3 separate regions of the Homo sapiens genome follow, and all the other regions are linked to region 2. The links are contacts of gene promoters, found by promoter capture Hi-C in blood cells and fetal thymus (Javierre and others, 2016). All regions are on one chromosome and are shown on one strand. Each heading gives the region's core, a stretch centred on a gene start or on the middle of the fragment in contact. The rest is flanking DNA. Distances are from core to core; before and after follow the strand shown. Region 1 overlaps SH3GL3 (SH3 domain containing GRB2 like 3, endophilin A3). Region 2 holds the start of ADAMTSL3 (ADAMTS like 3). Region 3 overlaps SH3GL3 (SH3 domain containing GRB2 like 3, endophilin A3).

What was found. The method cuts DNA at HindIII sites, captures the fragments that hold promoters and counts their contacts. A CHiCAGO score of 5 or more calls a contact.
Region 1: a fragment that was not itself captured here is called in contact with the fragment with the promoter of ADAMTSL3 in region 2 in 1 of 17 cell types (neutrophils); the score reaches 5.3 in neutrophils.
Region 3: a contact is called between a fragment that was not itself captured here and the fragment with the promoter of ADAMTSL3 in region 2, in 1 of 17 cell types (neutrophils). The highest score is 5.1, in neutrophils.

Annotation. Positions count from the first base shown.
Region 1 is chr15:83,569,814-83,572,513 of GRCh38, reverse strand. All of the region lies in intron 4 of SH3GL3 (SH3 domain containing GRB2 like 3, endophilin A3), which reads right to left. Among named protein-coding and RNA genes, the nearest start is that of ADAMTSL3, 83 kb to the left of the region's middle. The HindIII fragment of the contact is 2,297 bases long and covers 286-2,582 here.
Region 2 is chr15:83,652,708-83,655,407 of GRCh38, reverse strand. It overlaps ADAMTSL3 (ADAMTS like 3), which reads right to left and starts at 1,285. Exons shown (of 30, transcript NM_207517.3): 1 at 1,132-1,285. RefSeq lists an enhancer at 2,647-2,700. The HindIII fragment of the contact is 5,383 bases long and covers 1-2,700 here.
Region 3 is chr15:83,588,100-83,590,799 of GRCh38, reverse strand. It overlaps SH3GL3 (SH3 domain containing GRB2 like 3, endophilin A3), which reads right to left. Exons shown (of 9, transcript NM_003027.5): 8 at 2,029-2,138. Among named protein-coding and RNA genes, the nearest start is that of ADAMTSL3, 65 kb to the left of the region's middle. The HindIII fragment of the contact is 1,666 bases long and covers 520-2,185 here.

The sequences.
Region 1 (2,700 bases), core at 185-2,684, 83 kb after region 2:
TTAACAGTGCTATTTATTTCATTCTTTACCAAAAGTGTGTGGATGATGGTGTAGCAAGGTCCTTGCTCCGGGACCTCTGAATCCTGGATCAGAATGAAAAAGAAAAAGCAAGGCTTCCTATTTTCTGTATTTTCCTCTCTATGGTCTGCACTTTCACCACTACAGAAAATACAACTGAGGCTAGCAGACCGAAGTACTTACCATTTGGACCACTAGATGGGGATAAAGATCCTTTCTAAAAAACTGGTAATTTGGGAAACTGGCACGGAGGGTTCCTTAGAAGCTTGAGAATAAAATCTCTTTGTAAACAATGAAAGGATTCACTCATGGGGCTAAGTGTTAACCAGTAAAAATTACAATAGAAATAAACCAACAAAACATCTCAGCTTCTAGCCGTGGGATCTTCTCAAGGCTACTCCCCGTATCCTTCTAGAAGGTTCTAAGCCTCCCTGCCCTCTCTGATGTCAAAGAAAGCCTGCCAGTGTCACATGGGACATCCTGTCAGCAGGGTGGGGTGGGGGTCTGCTGGTGCGTTGGAGCCCAGGCCAGCCTTCCTGGCTCGGGTAGTGGCAGGTAGTTTTTCCTGGATTACAGTGTGCTATCTCAGTCCGGTTAATCGGCAGTAATTTGCCAGATTACTGCAAACCAGGTGCCCTCTAGTTCTCTGTACAATGAGGGTTGCAGGGTCTCTAGAAAACATCCCTGGGAAATGCTGCACTAGAATGAACTATTTTTCCTATATTTGGGTTTTTCCAAATTGATCTTGTAAAAAGATGGAGATTGGGTTGCTCCATTTCTAGGCTTGAAGAAGACCGTAAAGCCCAGCCTAAGTCTGACCTTTGAGTTGTTTCACCCACCAGGTGAGGGCATGGACAACTTAATTACCTGTAAAATAGAGATGGCAACATGTGCCTCACCTCCCTTAAAAAAAAAACAGAAAGATACTAAAGAGGACCTTGCAAAACAGAAGTAGGAACCGTTACTCTAAACTAAGGCTTCCCAGGACTCCATACGGACCCAGTGGTAGCTTCATTCCTCCTTGGAAGCTACATTTCCTTAGCTCAACTCTCCAAAGTGTGTCTAAATAATTCCTAAATGAAGACGAAATGTCCCTTCCTAGCCTGTGGACTCTTTCCTGCCCAAATGGTGAGAAATGGTATTGCCTGACCCCCTACACAGCCCCTCTGCCACCAGTGCCAGTGTCTCACAATGTCAGCTCATTTCGCCTTGACAGAAACATTTTCAAATACACTGTAGACTCCAAAGATGATGCTCTGAACATGGGCCGCCACCTCCCTGGAATCAACATTCCCTCTCCTTGCCTGAGACTGGCGCTGTCGAATTCCACGGGTGTGGGGCTCAGCCTCCACCCACTGAGGTTTCTGTACTGTAGGAGGTCCCAGTATGTGGCCCCCCAAAAGAAAACATCCAACGGCACAGCCTCTTCCTTGGAAGAGCAGAAATCCATCTGTTCCTGATGCCCTGCTGACATCAGCTCTCTTCCTCATCCCAAGTTTTTTTCGGTTGCCGAGCACCTGGGAAGCTACCAAATTGTCTGGCTGTCGCCAAGGCCAGATGCACGGCAGGAGTGTCCTTGGATTTCAAGGCCTGCCTGGCAGTTTCACCTGCTCCCTTCACTGATGTGCCTTCAGAGTAAGAAATAGGCCATCTTGTCCCCATTGGCCCTTAGAATAAAATAAAATTCACATTATACTGCTCTGAGGGATAATATTACCCTTTGTCACTAATTAATTCGTGTTTTAATGCTTGAGTTTTAACATTTTTTTCAAAAGATATTTCCTCCAATTTCCTAGAATGATTACTGTGGCCAAATATTTGATTTCTCAACTTCCATCTCTTCCATCTCCTGCCTTGTTACCACTATATGAATAGCAAATATGCCAAATTCTTTGGGAATACTTAATATATTAAATCCAATTCATCCTCAATTTAATGTATTAATTTAAATGAATCTCAATCAAAATTTAATGACTTTTTTAAATAAAAGGGACTTAAGTTTCACCTGGAAAAATAAAACCAGTAAGTGTGTCTGTGAACTTTTTGCAATACAATACCTAAATTTTTAGTAAATAATATATTAAAGTATGTTTTAAAACTTCAATACTTAAAACAATATGACACTGAATCAAAACAGGATACAGATCAAGAAACGGAAGAGAAAGACCATAAACAAATTTAATGTATAATAATTTAGCCTATAATAAAAGAATCATTTCAAATCATCAGGAGAAAGTTGGACTTTTCAACAGTACTGAAACAAGCTATTTATTTGTTAGAAAACAAAATTAGAACCCTATTGCACTGTAGCTCCAATAAATGCAGGAGCTTGGAAATTTAAAGGCAATAAAAGAAAATACAGGATTCAAAAACAAGTATAAATAAACGTTTATATCATTTGCCAGGGAGTGGGATGAAAAAGATTTTCTAAACATGATTCCAAAAAGCTAGAAACCATATAGGAAGACTAAAGAGCTTCAGTAAATAAAAAATAAAAATCTCTCTCCATTGAAATGACCTTCATATACAAGGTCTGAAGGCAAATGCTTACCTGGGACAAAGCTTCATCAACATACAAGACAGCCAATGAGCAAATATCCTGACCATTTAAAGAGCTCATGAGACAGGGGGGAAAAAATGGACCTCCTGATGCAAAAGCAGGCTAAGGACACAAACACACAA
Region 2 (2,700 bases), core at 36-2,535:
CCAGCACAGAGCCAAGGTTTAGGCTAGCTTCTGCTGCTCGCGGCAAAAATGAGTCTAAGACAACAAAGCCGCCCAGAGAGGGAAAGGACCTGCCTAAGGTCACACAGCAAGATAGTGACATTTTAGGGCTGAAACGCAGATCTTCTGATAGTTCAAGGCTTTCCTCGCTAGATGACACCGTGCGCCCTCGAGGTCCGGGACCCACACCCAGAGAGACGCCTGAGAGCTAAGTTCAGGGAGGTTTGGAGGACACAGCCCCTGAGCCAGCCTAACACAATCTCCTAAAAGTAGGTGAGGGCCAGCCAGCAGAGGTCAGCTGAAACCAGGAGGGAAGCGGGGACTTTTTCCCTTACTTTTCCTGTCAATTTACAGGGAAATCAGTATGAGTCGAGACTGGAAAAGCCGAGGTCACACTCGACTCCCGCTTCGCCTCGCGGGCGCCTTGGCGGAGCTGGTGTCCGGGGGCGGGTCGGTGGCTTCTCTCCATCTGGAGAAGGCATTAAGGGCCTGGTCTAATGTGATCCGCAAATGTGCTGCTGTTTCCGACCTGAGGCGGCGACTCCTGGCTGAAGGGAGGCGGCCAGTGCGGGGCCCTGGGACTCTGCGCCACCCTCGCCTGCTCGCACCAGCCTTCCGAGTGCACACTCCTCCGACTACCCGCTGCCTCGAAGTCGCTCCTCCAGTGCCTCCGCCGCGTCCCGGTCACCCCCACGCCCACTTTCCACGATCGCGCGTCGCCTCAACCCCCGGCGTTCTGGGCGCTCGCTACCCAGTGGTCAACCGGCCGGACCTTCGGACCCGCGAGGTTTCTGCTTAGTAACTCCCAATCCTGAAAAACTCCAACCCTGTGGAGTTCCCCCATAATCAAGAACGCCCCTCAGCCCGCGAACTGCCGCCGAAAGACTCTCCCTGAACCTTCCGGGACGGCACGAAGCGCGCCCGACCCGAGGTGCCCAGCAGTGAGGAGCACCCCAGTCCTGAGGCCCCCTGGGGCCCGCGTGGCACGCCCCGACTCTGCTTGGAGACCCCCAACTTGCTTAGAGAGGCCACTGCTCCAAGTCTTACTCCCTCTGGGGAGCGCCTTCCCCCGACCCCTGAGGGGCCGCCCTGCGCCGAGCTCGGTGCACCCACCTTGCGCCGCAGAAGTATCTGGGACGTGCAGCCCCGGGGCCGCGCGGGCTCGGCGCGCGCTGGGGAGAAGTTGGCAGAAGCCGCCCGTCAACACCTCGTGCGGAATCCGGCACCAGGACCTTCCCCGACGCCGGCCTCCAGCCCGCGGCGCCGCAGTCGCCGCCGCCGCCGCGAAGTTAAATGGGGCTGGGACGGGGGCTGCCCCGCCTCTCCCGCCCCCTCCGGGCGCGCAGAGCGCTGCGCTGGCCCCGGCCCAGAGGCGGAGGGCGCGCGCCGCCACCTGCACCGCCCGGCAAGTGCACGGCGCGCCCAGGCGCCCGTCAGCCTGCGCGCCGGCACCGCGCCCTCGGCTTGAGCTGGAGGCGCCGGGGGCGCGAAGAGACGCCGTGTGGGGCCAGGCCCGGGCCGCTCGGAGCGCGCGGGGCCGCGGCGACGGCGGGACTCGGCTGGAACGCTCCTCCGCCCGCTTCCTGGAAGCCACTCCTCGCCCTGGGCCGGCCGCCAGGCGTTGTGCCAAGAGCCGGGATTGCCGACGCCGCCACCGCCGCCGCCGGCAGGCGCACTGGGGAAAGGCGGCCGCTGCGCCGCAAGCCAGCCTGGCCGCCCCGCCTCAGCCGGAGCCGGAGCAGGGATGCCGTCGCTCCCCCCGAGCCCACCCCCGGCCCCACCTCCCATAGCCTCCACCCACCCCGCCCAGACCCGGGCGCCAGCTCTGCAAAGTCAGGCCCAGCAGCCACACAGAGGTTTGCCCGGAACCGCTGGCTCGTGCCTAAGAGCCATAGGCACTCCTGGCCAGGCAGGACCATAGTGGAGACCAATGGCCCTCTCCTGGCCTGCGCCTCCTCCGCGCAGCATAGACGCCACACAAGGGACTGTGGAGCGCTCACTGCCCAGAGGCCTGGGACCTTTGGCAGCCAGGGACCACGAGGATCTTGCAGGAGCGCCTCTTAACTGGGTACCTGGCGCCTCCTTGTCTGAGCCGGGCTTGGGGAACTGAGAGCTCCACAGGTGCCAGAATCATGCCGTGTCCAGGCCTGGGATTTGGGGTTGGGGGGAAGAGTGTCGCGGACAAGAGACTGGGGTGAGTTGCCTGTGTACTTCTGGAGGTGAGGAGAAGTAAAAGGAAATGTTTGTCCCTGTCCTTGTCCTAGTCCCAGCAGGATAAGCCAAGGGCCAGGAGATTGATCTTAAAGGCTGCATTATGCCCCCACCTAAGTCCTACCACAGTCGCCATTTCCTTGGGTGTCTGTCGAGTACCAAGCTCTTTGTGTCTATCTGATCTTCACAGCAGCAGTAGTTCGAGCATTATCCCATTTCACCTAGGATAAATCTGAGGCTGGGAGGATAACTTGCCCACCATGAGTGGAGAAGCCAGGACTGGAACCCCTATCTGCCTCTCTCTAGAGCCTGGACTGTTCACCCCTAAAGTTGTTCTCCTGCCTTCTCTGTGGTTGCTGCGTTCCGGTTACTGCTAGAGCTTTGCCAAGAGCAATTGGCCCTGCCTGCTTTCCTCACTCATTCTTCCCTTACTTACTCTGGTGACTTCCTCTGACCAAGAAGAGGATCTTC
Region 3 (2,700 bases), core at 103-2,602, 65 kb after region 2:
AGCATTCTCAAGACTCAACAGTAAAAATGTAAACAATCCAATTAGAAAATGGACAAAAGACATGAAGAAACATTTCACCAAAGAGGATACACAGATGGCAAATAAACACATGAAAAGATATTCAACATCATTAGTCACTAAGGAAATGCAAATTAAACCCACAGTAAGATTAATTACACACCTATCAAAGTGGCTAAAATAAAAAACAGTGACAACAGCAAATGCTGGCAGGGATGTGGAGAAACTAGATCACTAATATATTGCTGGTGGGGATGTGAAATGGTAGCACAACTCTGAAAGATAGTTTGGGAATTTCTTTTCATTTAGAAAAATAAATCCTTATGATAAAGATCTAAATATTAAGAAAAGATTATTCAAAGTAGTAGAAAACTGTAGAAGAATAACTTCAGGGATAGGAAGACTTTTCACAACAGGGCACAAAATGTAATCATGACAGGGCACAAAATGTAAAGTCACAAGCAAAAGACAGACACATTTGACTACATCAAAATAAAAGCTTCTGTATACTCAAAGCAAAACTAAACAAAGCAAACAACAGCAAAAACAACAAAGGGACAAGGCACTCCAAAAACAAAGTTTAAAGATAAATGACAAACTAGGAAAAAAATTATTAATATCCTCATATGGAAAGAGCTCCTATAAAACAATAAGACAAAGCAAACTACTCCCAAAAAACACAAATAAATGACATAAACAGACAATTCAGACATAAGGAAATACAAATTAAAATATAGAAAAGAAAGTTCACCCTCACTAATAATCATGAAAATGCAAATTAAGACTGGATACCATTTTTTTCTCATGAGTGCTTGGCAGAAATGGAAGTCTACTGGCATGGGTGTGGGGAAGCAGGTGTTCATGCTTTAATAGTAATGTAGCCAGCACAGTGATAAAGGATACTCACTGTAGCAAATAACTGGAAAAAACCTTAACGTCCACCAATAGGGAAATGGTATAATAGAAAACTATGAAGCTGTTAAAACAGTGGGATAGATCTATATGCATGATATGGAAATAACTCGAAGAAACAGTGATACATTTTAAAAAGCAAACTGCCAAACAATATGCCTAGTATAATCTCGCATTTAAAAAACAGAAAAAAGGCTGGGTACAGTGGCTCATGCCTATAATCCCAGCACTTCAGAAGGCCGAGGCAGAAGGATTGCTTGAGCCCAGGAGTTGCAGGCCAGCCTGGGCAACAAAGTAAGACCTTGTCTCTACAAAAAATAAAAAAATTTGCCTGGCAGGGTCACATACACCTGTAGTTCCAGCTACATGGAAGGCTGAGGCAGGAGGATTGCTTGAGCCCAGGAGGTCAAGGCTGCACCGAGCCATGTTCATGCCATTGCACTACAGCCTGGGTGACAGAGCAAGACTTTGTCTCAAAAAAGAAAAAAAGAAAAAACAGAAAAAAATCCAAAACGCTGTTTATGTGTATATTTATGTACCTCAATAGATATGATAATAGTTATACCAAATTTTTTTAACAGTGGCTACATCTAGGAAGCGAACTGCGATGGTGTAGGTGATCACAAGAGACTATAGAATGACTTATACCATTAAATTTTTTTTTCTGTTTGATTATTTTACCAATTTTTTTCTGTTTGATTATTTTACTAAAAGACACATTTGCATCACTTGTTTAATAAAAAATAACGATGCAGCACTTAAGATAGTATCTAGCATATAGCAGTTGCTCAAAAATGCTAATTTCAACTTAAAAATAAATTAAGAAAATATTTTCAAAGAGTTAAAAAAATAAAGGATGATGTAGCCATAATGGTTCTATGGCCAAGGTTCTAAATGCTACATTATATAAGTGATAGAATTCTTCCCCAGGGAACAGAAAAAAGGGGCACGTTTAGGGGAAAAGGGAATTTACCAAACAACCAAAGAAAGATATCCAGGGTCTGTGTGTATTCACTGACCCAGAAACAAGCAGTAAATAAGTGTTTCTAGAAGTGCTTTACTAAAGGCACACTTAGCATATTAGAATGGTCAACTTACCTGTCGTCTTCACTACAGAGGTGGTGGAAACTCCATTGAGCTCACTAGAACTCCTTTTCACAGGCCTTGGCTTGTATTCTCGTCTGGGGACACTGGATGCAGCTGATATTCTGTAACACACATCGTAAGATGAGCCAGACATCTGATGTTGAAAGCTTTCCAAACACACATCCTCTCTGCCTTGTTGAGCACAGGAACTTAGGTTACAGCCAGTGGTCATGAAAGGGACGATTTTTACACACTGACTCTTGAGTAGCCCGAAGTGATGGAGGTGATATCACAAATGCAGTTTTTCAACTCCCTATTTGAGCTTGTGAGTGAAATTCATCTTGAAGAAGACTAATTGGGCCAGCCATGGTGGCTCATGCCTGTAATCCCAGCACTTTGGGAGGCCAAGGTGCTCACCTGAGGTCAGGAGTTCGAGATCAGCCTGGCCAACATGGTGAAACCCCATCTCTACGAAAAATACAAAAATTAGCCAGGCATGGTGGTGGGCGCCTGTAATCCCAGCTACTCGGGAGGCTTAGGCAGGAGAATCTCTTGAAACTGGAAGGTGGAGGCTGCAGTGAGCAGAGGTTACGGTGAGCCAAGATGGCGCCACTGCACTCCAGCCTGGGCAACAGAGCACGACTCCATCTCAAAACAAAACAAAACAAAACAAAAGACTAATTT